Linked DNA regions of Homo sapiens: all the other regions are linked to region 3. Evidence: promoter capture Hi-C in 16 types of primary human blood cells and fetal thymus (Javierre and others, 2016). All regions are on one chromosome and are shown on one strand. Each heading gives the region's core, a stretch centred on a gene start or on the middle of the fragment in contact. The rest is flanking DNA. Distances are from core to core; before and after follow the strand shown.

Region 1 (3,124 bases), core at 174-2,673, 180 kb before region 3:
CATTTGGAGCGCTTTCACGCCTTTGGTGAAAAAGGAAATGTCTTCCCATAAAAACTAGACAGAAGCATTCTAAGAAACTTCTTTGTGATATATGCACTCAACTAACCGAGTTGAACCTTTCTCTTTATAGATCAGTTTGAAATGCTCTTTTTGTGGAATCTGCAAGTGGATATTTGGATAGCTCTGAGGATTTCGTTGGAATCGGGATTACATATAAAATATAGACAGCAGCATTCTCAGAAGCTCCTTGTGATGTTTGCTTTTAAGTCACAGAGTTGAACATTCCCTTCCATAGAGCAGTTTTGAAACACTCTTTCTGTAGTATCTCTAAGTGGACATTTCGAGCGATGTCAGGCCTATGTTGAAAAAGGAAATAACTTCCCATAAAAAGTAGACAGAAGCATTCTCAGAAACTTATTTGTGATGGGTGTCCTCAACTAACAGAGTTGAACGTTTCTTTTGATACAACAGTTTAGAAACACTCTTTTTGTAGTATCTGCAAGCGGATATTTCGATAACTTTGAAGATTTCGTTGGAAACGGGAATATCTTCATATACAATCTAGACAGAGGCACTCTCAGAAACTGCTTTGTGATGTCTGCATTCAAGTCACAGAATTGAACATTCTCTTTCATCGAGCACGTTTGTAACACCGTTTCTGTAGTATCTGGATGTGGACATTTGAGCGCTTTGACGCGTACGGTGACATAGGAAATATCTTCCCTTAAAAACTAGACAGAAGCCTTCTCACAAACTGCTTTGTGATGTATGTCCTCCACTAACAGAGTTGAACCTTTCTATTTACAGGGCAGTTTTGAAAGACTCTTTTTGTAGAATCTGCAAGCGGATATTTGGATACCTTTAAGTAGATTTCATTGGAAACGGAAAAGTCATTCTCAGAAACTTCTTTGTGATATGTGTCCCCACCTAACAGAGTACAACCTGTCTTTGGATACAGCAGTTTGGAAACACTCTTTTTGCAGAATCTGCAAGTGGATATTTGGATAGCTCTGACGATTTCCTTGGAAACGGGAATATCTTCATATAAAATCTAGACAGAAGCACTCTCAGGAGGTACTTTGTGATATCTGCATTCAAGTCACAGAGTTGAACATTCCCTTTCATAGAGCTGGTTTGAAACACTCTTTTTGTTGTATCTGGAAATGGATCTTTGGAGCGCTTTGCCGACTTTGGAGAAAAAGGAAATATCTTCCCATAAAAACTAGACAGAAGCATTCTCAGAAACTTGTTTGTGATGTGTGTACTCAACTGACAGAGTTGAACGTTTCTTTTTACACAGCAGTTTTGAAACACTCTTTTTGTAAAATCTGCAAGTGGATAATTGGATGGCTTTAAGGATTTCCTTGGAAACGGGACTATATTCATGTAAAATCTACACAGAAGCATTCTCAGAAACTTCTTTGTGATGTGTGTCCTTAACTAACAGAGTTCAACCTTTCTTTTGATACAGCAGTTTCGAAACACTCCTTTTGTAGAATATGCAAGTGGATATTTGGATAGCTCTAACGATTTCATAGGAAATGGGAATACCTTCATATAAAATCTAGACAGAGGCACTCTCAGAAACTGCTTTGTGATATCTGCACTCAAGTCACAGAGTTGAACATTCCCTTTCTTAGAGCAGGTTTGAGACACTTTGTAGTATCTGGAAGTGGACATTTTTAGCGCTTTGACGCCTTTGGTGAAAAAGGAAATGTTTTCCCATAAAAACTAGACAGAAGCATTCTAAGAAACTTCTTTGGGATATATGTACTCAACTAACAGAGTTGAACCTTTCTATTTATAGGTCAGTTTTGAGAAGCTCTTGTTGTGGAATCTGCAAGTGGATATTAGGATAGCTCTGAGGATTTCCTTGGAAACGGGATTACATATAAAAAGTAGACAGCAGCATTCTCAGAACCTTCTTTGTGATGTTTGCTTTTAAGTCACAGAGTTGAATATTCCCTTACATAGAGCAGGTTTGAAACACTATTTCTGTAGTATCTGGACATGGACATTTCGAGCGATTTCAGGCCTATGTTGAAAACGGAAATATCTTCCCATAAATACTAGACAGAAGCATTCTCAGAAATTTCTTTGTGATGTGTGTCCTCAACTAACAGAGTTCATCCTTTCTTATGATACAGCAGTTTTGAAACACTCTTTTTGTAGAATATGTAAGTGGATAGTTGGATAGCTCTCATTATTTCATTGGAAACGGGAGTATCAACATAGAAAACCTAGACAGAAAAATTCTCAGAAACTGCTTTATGATGTCTGCATTCACGTCACAGAGTTGATCATTCCCTTTCATAGAGCAGGTTTGAAACACTATTTCTGTAGTATGTGGACATGGACATTTCGAGCGATTTCAGGCCTATGTTGAAAACGGAAATATCTTCCCATAAAAACTAGACAGAAGCATTCTCAGAAATTTCTTTGTGATGTGTGTCCTCAACTAACAGAGTTCATCCTTTCTTATGATACAGCAGTTTGGAAACACTCTTTTTGTAGAATATGTAAGTGGATAGTTGGATAGCTCTCACTATTTCGTTGGAAACGGGAGTATCAACATAGAAAACCTAGACAGAAACATTCTCAGAAACTGCTTTATGATGTCTGCATTCACGTCACAGAGTTGATCATTCCCTTTCATAGAGCAGGTTTGAAACCCTCTTTCCGTAGTATCTGGATGTGGACACTTGGAGCGCTTTGACGCTTACGGTGCAAAAGGAAATATCTTCCCATAAAAACTAGACAGAAGCATTCTCACAAACTGGATTGTGATGTTTGTCCTCAACTAACAGAGTTGAAACTTTCTATTTACAGAGCACTTTTGAAAGACTCTTTTTGGAGAATCTGCAAGTGGATATTTGGAGAGCTTTAAGGATTTCATTGGAAACGGGAATATCTTCATATAAAATCTAGACAGAGGCATTCTCAGAAACTTCTTTGTGATGTGTGTCCTCAACCAACGGAGTACATCCTGTCTTTTGATACAGCAGTTTGGAAACACTCTTTTTGTAGAATCTGCAAGTGGATATTTGGATAGCTCTAACGATTTCGTTGGAAACGGGAATATCTTCATAAAAAATCTAGACAGAAGCACTCTCAGAAACTACTT
Region 2 (3,050 bases), core at 414-2,913, 140 kb before region 3:
CTATCAGAAATAAGAATTCCTTCTTAGGAATCCATGGACAAAATGACAAGGAGGTAGAAAACCAAATGAAAGAAATATACACTAATTTCCATGACATTTATACATGTTTGAATGATACAGAATTATTCTTACCTGGGAGGTTACCATCAGTTTCATCAGCACTAGGAAAACTAGCAACACTTGTAGAATCCGAGAGGTCCAAAAGTTTAGCACGCAATTGCTCAATATCACTCTCTTTGCTGGCCAACTGCATCTGAAGCTCATTCCTATGTGCACATTCTTCTACCAATTGCTAATTTTGAAAAGTATCAAGATAATATAATCAAGCTAAAACAATTTCCAACATTACTAATTGAAATATGATAATTTAAATTGCTAATACTAAAAATGTACAGTAAACTTCATGAATGTTTGCTACCACAGATTTTGATACACTACAGAAATGTCAAGTTCTTTCTCAGTAATACAATGCTCGGACAAATTCCTTTTCTCCTTGCCTTAAAAAGAGTTTTTGTTTTTGTTTTCAAACATAAGCCATCAAAACAAAAAAGTTACAACAAAAGAAAATGCTTTTCTGGCTCCAAATGAAGTAGCTTTAAAGGTATAGAAAACTTCAGAAAACCATAACTGATGGAGCTAAAAAGCTTAGATCTAAGTGCCCGAGACCAGGTTCTCAATTTTGTTCTATTAACAAGCCAAGGGGTATCAAAAAATTAAGCTTGTTATTTTGATTTCAAAAAAGTGAGTCTTGACTAGAGAAAATAAATAAGCTACAATACTTCAAAACCTCTACCCCAATTATAGTTAATATTATAACAGCCATATCCCAATTTCAGTCTGAAACCAAACAGGCAGAACCCTTGATTGTTCCCAATCTAAACAAGATAAATAGATAACAAGTATATACAGAAATAATTTAAGAAAATAATCCTTCACACTCATATCCATACACACACAGAAACCTTACCGCTTGCATGTCATTCAGTTCCTTCTGATGTTTCACTACCATCTGGTTGAATTTCTCTCTTTCTTGGTTGAGTTCCAGTTGCAGCTTTCGATTTTCCTTTTCTTTCTTTCTCAAATCTTGTGTATTAGCTTTCTTTCTATCAATTTTAAAATCTTTTCGATTCATTATTTCTGCCAATTTGTTAACAGCCTATTAAAATATTATTAATAAAGATCAATAGTGTAGTCATCCAATTTAATACTAAAATGTATTTTTTTCTTCAAAATCAGGAAGCAGGACTTTCTGTGTGTATGAAAATTAGGACAACTTCATGATGGTTGAGACATGATAACTGGTAGCACAAGTAACTAACACTGACTTATCACACTACTTAAATGTAAGAACCAGGAGCCTTTCTTTGGTTAACTTTACAACCCAGTACTGAATCAAGAGTATGCTAATCCTACTCTGATGTTGGGTACTAGCAAATAAAGCTTCTATGCCTTGGCCACATACTCTTATCTTCTACAACTATACAATATTACTAGGCAAGTTAGCTTTCTTAACTGAAATCCTATTTCTTTTTTTTTTTTTGAGACTGGGTCTTGCTCTGTCGCCCAGGCTGGCATGCAGTGGCATGATCTTTGCTCACTGCAACCTCTGCCTCCTGGGTTCAAGCAATTCTCGTGCCTCAGCCACCTGACTAGCTGGTATTACTGGAGCGCACCACCACGCCCGGCTAATTTTTGTATTTTTAGTAGAGACTGGGGTTTCGATGTCAGCCAGGCTGCTCTCGAACTCCTGGCCTTAAGTGTTCTGCTGGCCTCAGCCTCCTAAAGTGTTGGGATTACAGGCATGAGCCACCGCGCCTGGCCTTGAAATTCTATTTCACAAATAAGTTTTTTATAGTTAGCGGGGAGAGAATTTATTTGTTCTGATGAAAAGCTTGAACCTTATAAGCCTTGGTTTTAGGAAAAAGTGCATAAAGAGCAATGATTAACTCAAAAATGAACATGTGGAAAAGATCGAAAGCATGTATACCTGTGTTTTAAGGGTTCGTTCAGTGTTGATATTCTTTTCAAAGGCAGCCTTAAGATTACTGATCTCCTCCTCCTTCTCCAGTTTATATTCTGTCAACAAATTATATTAAATGTTATTGTATGGTATTAATTTAATTTCTGCATTTCAAACTAACAATGTCTTTAATTATTCAAATAAGTATACATTACATAGTAACTTTCAGTAACTTCATTAAGATAATTCTTAAGGCTACAGAAGTTACTTAATATATGAAAACAGGTATCTTAGAAACCTAACACAACATAGGTAAAGATAAATCACTGAATTTGATTTAACATGATGATTTTTTAAAAATTCTACATACCTTCCTCTGCCTTCTTCATTTTCTCTGTTAGCTCTTCATTCTCTCTTCTTAATATTTCAATATCTTTGGTTAGCATGCTGTTTGCTTCTTCAAGCTAAACAAAGCACACAAAAGTTTAAGCTCCAGCCTCTTTGCTATTCTCGTATTTCAGGCAGTAACCTTTAAATATACTGCTAGATAAAGACAGGTCAGACACTGCTGAACTACAGCAAATGTCTGGTTTCCAGCTTAAAATATGTAATTACATCAAAAATATTTAAAAGTAGTTAACAGCATCCAAAAATTATTTCATTGTATGCATATAGATATATGTATGAACAAAAGGGGGGCATATGTAATGGCAAGATAACTAGATTGCAAACTAAGAAATTTGTATTTAGTTCTAGCTCTGCGATTAACCTAGTATGTGACCCCGAGCAAGTCATACTTTTTCTGGACTTCAATATCTTTATCTGAATATTGATGATGAAAACGATAATAAAAACATTTATTTATAGATTACTTTTAGTAATATATAATCATTACTTGTTATATGTTATATTAATCATTCTATGTCTACTGTCTTATTTAATCCTCATAACAATCATGTGGAAGAGATATTACTATTTCTATTTTATAGATGAGAAATCTGAGGCTTAGAGAAGTTAAAGCCAACTTTGCCAAGACCATATAACTTCTTAGGGGCAAAACTGGAACCCAGAGTGACTGATAGTGGCTTTA
Region 3 (3,561 bases), core at 460-2,959:
GGTTTTTCATGTCATAAAACCCTCTTTAGAATGTTTTACAAGTGACAATGTTAAGTGCCACACCACCAAAAAGACAGTTACAATAACTGTATGGTACGTACTTTTGTAACCAATAATACAATAAAATAAGTTAACACTGTAATTACCTATGACCAATTATCTTGGTTTTTTACAATAGTTTAGCAAAAAGTTCCTTCAAACTCAAATCACCTATGAAATTTTGGCTCAAAAATCACTTCCTCAATAGCAATTCTCCGTTATCATTTTCAAGGCTAAAAACTAAACCCCTAGGAGCTAAATCGCAAAAAGGAAAAAAAATGCAAAGTAGTCTTTCCAATTTAACTGTCAAACGGATCAGAAAGATTAACATTAATTACTACGATCGCCATTCAACAAACTGTATACATTGCAGTAACTCTGACGTGATAACTTTTTATAGGATGCCTGCAATAGCAGTTTGTAAGTATCTTTCGGGTACTCATGAACTGAGTCAGAATTAAAAGTTCAGAGTAGTTAGTACAGAGCCAGTCAAATGGCAAATAGGACCACACCATGAGATGTTAATGGTACTCCAAGATTCTTCAGGAAACAGAAATCTAGCATTTTCCAAGACGATTATGCACACCTGAGACTTTTGCAGCGAACCAGACTAATGCAAGAGGAAGGAAAGACATGCAAAACCCCAGACAAGCAAAAGAGAACAGCGCTACTCACCAGCAAACAATCCGAATTCACTTCCGATTTGGGATCCCGCAGCAGGTTGTCCATTTTTTCAAATCGAGTCTCAAAACTGTCCCCAGTCGACATGTTGCTGCTGCTGTGACAATGCCCTCTTACCAGCACCAGCAGCGGAAAGCAATTTCAACCAACTTCCTCCGCGGTGGGTTCGCAGCCGCGGGGCGGAGGAGCCGGAACCTCAGGGTCACCAGGTGCGCCCGGTTCCCCCGTCTTCCCCTCACTGAGGGGACCTCCGCTCTCCAGACCCCGGGCCGGGGGCAACAGCGACCCACAGCCGCTCGGACGCCCAAAGTCGCATCCCACCCGGCAGCCCCTCACGACAGCCGACAGCGCCGTCGCCACCAGCCTCGTCGCTCCGGCGAGGTGCTTCAGTCTAGCGGGCCCCGGCCGCCGTCGCCATGGAGGGGTCCCCGTCCCGAGATGGGCAGGAGCGGGTAGAGAAAGAGAAGCAGGGTGGAGACTCCCTCCGGGCAACAAGGGAGGGAGAAGAGGAAAGGCGAAAGCAAAGGGCGGGTGAGGAGCTGTGCCAGCTGCGGCCGCCGCTCGGGCCACGGGCCGGGCCCGCTCCGCTCAGAGGCGCTGTAGACGGTCTAGCCCCGCGTCCCCGGCTCTACTCGGCCCGGCCCGACGCACCGATCAGTCTCGGCCACGAGCTGGTCCACGCAGGACAGCCTCACTCTCCCATTTTGTCCCGTCGCTGCTGGGGCTGCTGCTACGGTGTCCGGTGGGGCAGGGCGAGGTCGATGCCCGATGGAGACTTAGCAGAGGAAAGGCTGGAGAGCGGGCGAAGAGGAAGACGATAGTTGGGTCCCGGCGGCTGCTGATGGGGGAGCTTCTGGGAGGGGCTGCGGTCCCAGCCGGGGAAAGGGCGAGTCGCGGCGGCGAATGCCTGGGGGGTGGGGCGAGGGGGGCTGAGAGGGACTAATATGTCCGCCTTCCTGTTCAAACAAACGGAGACCGCCGGGGCAGACTGCGCATGCGGGGCGCGGACGCTCGGAAGGGGAACCAGCCGGGACCCCGCGCGCGCGCGCGCACTCTGTCGCCTCCGCAGGGTGGGGTGGGGCGGGGCGGTGAGGTGGGCGGGGCCTTGCGGGCAGGCGGTGGAGAAGGCGGACCGCTGGGAGGAGCCGAGTGCGGGTAAGCAGCTGCCGGCAAGGTTCTCGCCTTGGCCGGCTCTGAGGAGCCATGCAGGGCTCTGGAGCGGCCTTGGAGGTCCGGACGGAGGCGGAGCTCTGGCTGCTTCTGATCGCTGTCCCGGCAGATGCCCCAGCTCTGTTTCCTCTGGGTTGCAGCCAGTCCAGAGACTTCTGACGAGGAGAGAGTGCTTGTTCTCCTTGTTGCTGTTAGGGTGGGGCAATAGGTTCTTTTTTAGGCAAGAAGCCTTTTCGTCGGCAGGTACCAGCATTGAGCACCAGTGGCGTTTGGTTTTCAGTGGTACTCCATGGACAGCCCTCCGCGAGCCCCGGCGTTGAACCCATTTACGATTCACTGGGAAAGTTCCGAAGCGCTGCAGCGCTCAGCCCTCCCACGCCAGGCGTGTGTGTCAGGGGAGCCATAAAATACTGACTCCGGAAGATACAGTCAATAGAAGTCAAGCTCAATTTAATTTTTTTAAAGGAAAATAATCTCGTAGAAAAAAATCAATATTTTTAAGTCGTTCGTGTTAGTTCTCATAACACCCCTACTGTAGTTCTCTCCTGGACGTGTAATGCTGCCGTTTCAATGTCAAAACATTCAGTGAAACTTAATTGTGATTTTTATCAGAACTAATGTAGGACATGAGAATAATGGGCATTTCTCCTAGTTCCGTTACTTCGTTGACTGTGGTGTGAGGAAAGGTGAAAGACTTGTCACTCACCCCCGCTGATAAAGTTATGTTCTTCACTGGTTTCAGCAGGAAATCTACCTTAATTTATTCCTCATCAAACTTTATTTTTGCTCAGAAGCCAAATTAAGGATCACTAGAAATAGAAAATGTGGATCTTTTACCCCATGATGGAAAATGCTACAGATGAACCAAAAAGCATCGGAGTAAAAAGCATCGTACAGCATCTGAACAGTCCACCAGCCTTACGATGTGAGTCAGAGGTTAGGAAAATCTTACACTGTTTGAAAAAATGTCTATTTCTATTTTCAATTTATTAAATACAAGAAATATTTAGATATAAAATCCACTATATATATCAAGATAGGACGTTCTTGGTTTATACAAAAATCATAACAAAGACAACTAGACAAACCAGGTATTTCATTAAATGCCTTTGCAGCGACTTTTCTTGGCTCCAGCATTTTAAGTCATGTGAATTAGACTTATTTTTAAGCATAGGGCTTAAAATAAATCAGGCAGTTGCCCTAAAATAAATTTCCTAAACCCTGCTTGTCTTTTTTTTATTATTATTACCATTTTTAGGTATTAGGAATTTTGTTGTTTCTCAGAGAACCGTGAACATTATGTTGCTTTCCATTTAGACACATACGAAAAAATACAAGTAGTTAAGACAATACATGAGTGACACTGATAAATATAAGTGGAAGTGATAACCAACCTGGCAGAACTACTAGAAATATATGTGGGGTCCATATATTTCTAGAAATATCTACTAGAAATATAGGTGGGGTCCATATATAGCTTACTTACCTACAAGGCTCTTCTGATTATTGTGACACATCACTAGTTATCTTCTGCCATAAGATAGATGGACTCTAAATCTAGTTATCTTCTGCCATAAGATAGATGGACTCTAAATTAACTTTTTTTTTTTTCTCCGAGGCGGAGTTTCACTCTTGTCTACCAGTCTGGAGTGCAGTGGCACGATCTCGGCT

The links. Contacts are between HindIII fragments. The CHiCAGO score rates a contact against its expected background, and 5 or more counts as called.
Region 1: a fragment that was not itself captured here is called in contact with the fragment with the promoter of ROCK1 in region 3 in 3 of 17 cell types (naive B cells, total B cells and naive CD4 T cells); the score reaches 5.4 in naive B cells.
Region 2: a contact is called between a fragment that was not itself captured here and the fragment with the promoter of ROCK1 in region 3, in 4 of 17 cell types (total B cells, naive B cells, naive CD4 T cells and 1 more). The highest score is 6.5, in total B cells.

What each region holds. Positions count from the first base shown.
Region 1 is chr18:20,933,139-20,936,262 of GRCh38, forward strand. No RefSeq gene overlaps it. Among named protein-coding and RNA genes, the nearest start is that of ROCK1, 180 kb to the right of the region's middle. RefSeq lists enhancers at 1-583, 584-1,189, 1,190-1,797, 1,798-2,403, 2,404-3,011 and 1 more. The HindIII fragment of the contact is 5,772 bases long and covers 1-3,124 here.
Region 2 is chr18:20,966,785-20,969,834 of GRCh38, forward strand. It overlaps ROCK1 (Rho associated coiled-coil containing protein kinase 1), which reads right to left. Exons shown (of 33, transcript NM_005406.3): 24 at 2,331-2,424; 25 at 1,988-2,076; 26 at 968-1,156; 27 at 133-292. Among named protein-coding and RNA genes, the nearest start is that of ROCK1, 140 kb to the right of the region's middle. The HindIII fragment of the contact is 451 bases long and covers 1,439-1,889 here.
Region 3 is chr18:21,110,104-21,113,664 of GRCh38, forward strand. ROCK1 (Rho associated coiled-coil containing protein kinase 1) reads right to left here and starts at 1,710. Exons shown (of 33, transcript NM_005406.3): 1 at 715-1,710. The coding sequence starts at 807. RefSeq lists enhancers at 1,363-1,951, 1,605-1,899, 1,999-2,218, 2,249-2,308 and a silencer at 1,569-1,958. The HindIII fragment of the contact is 6,843 bases long and covers 1-3,561 here.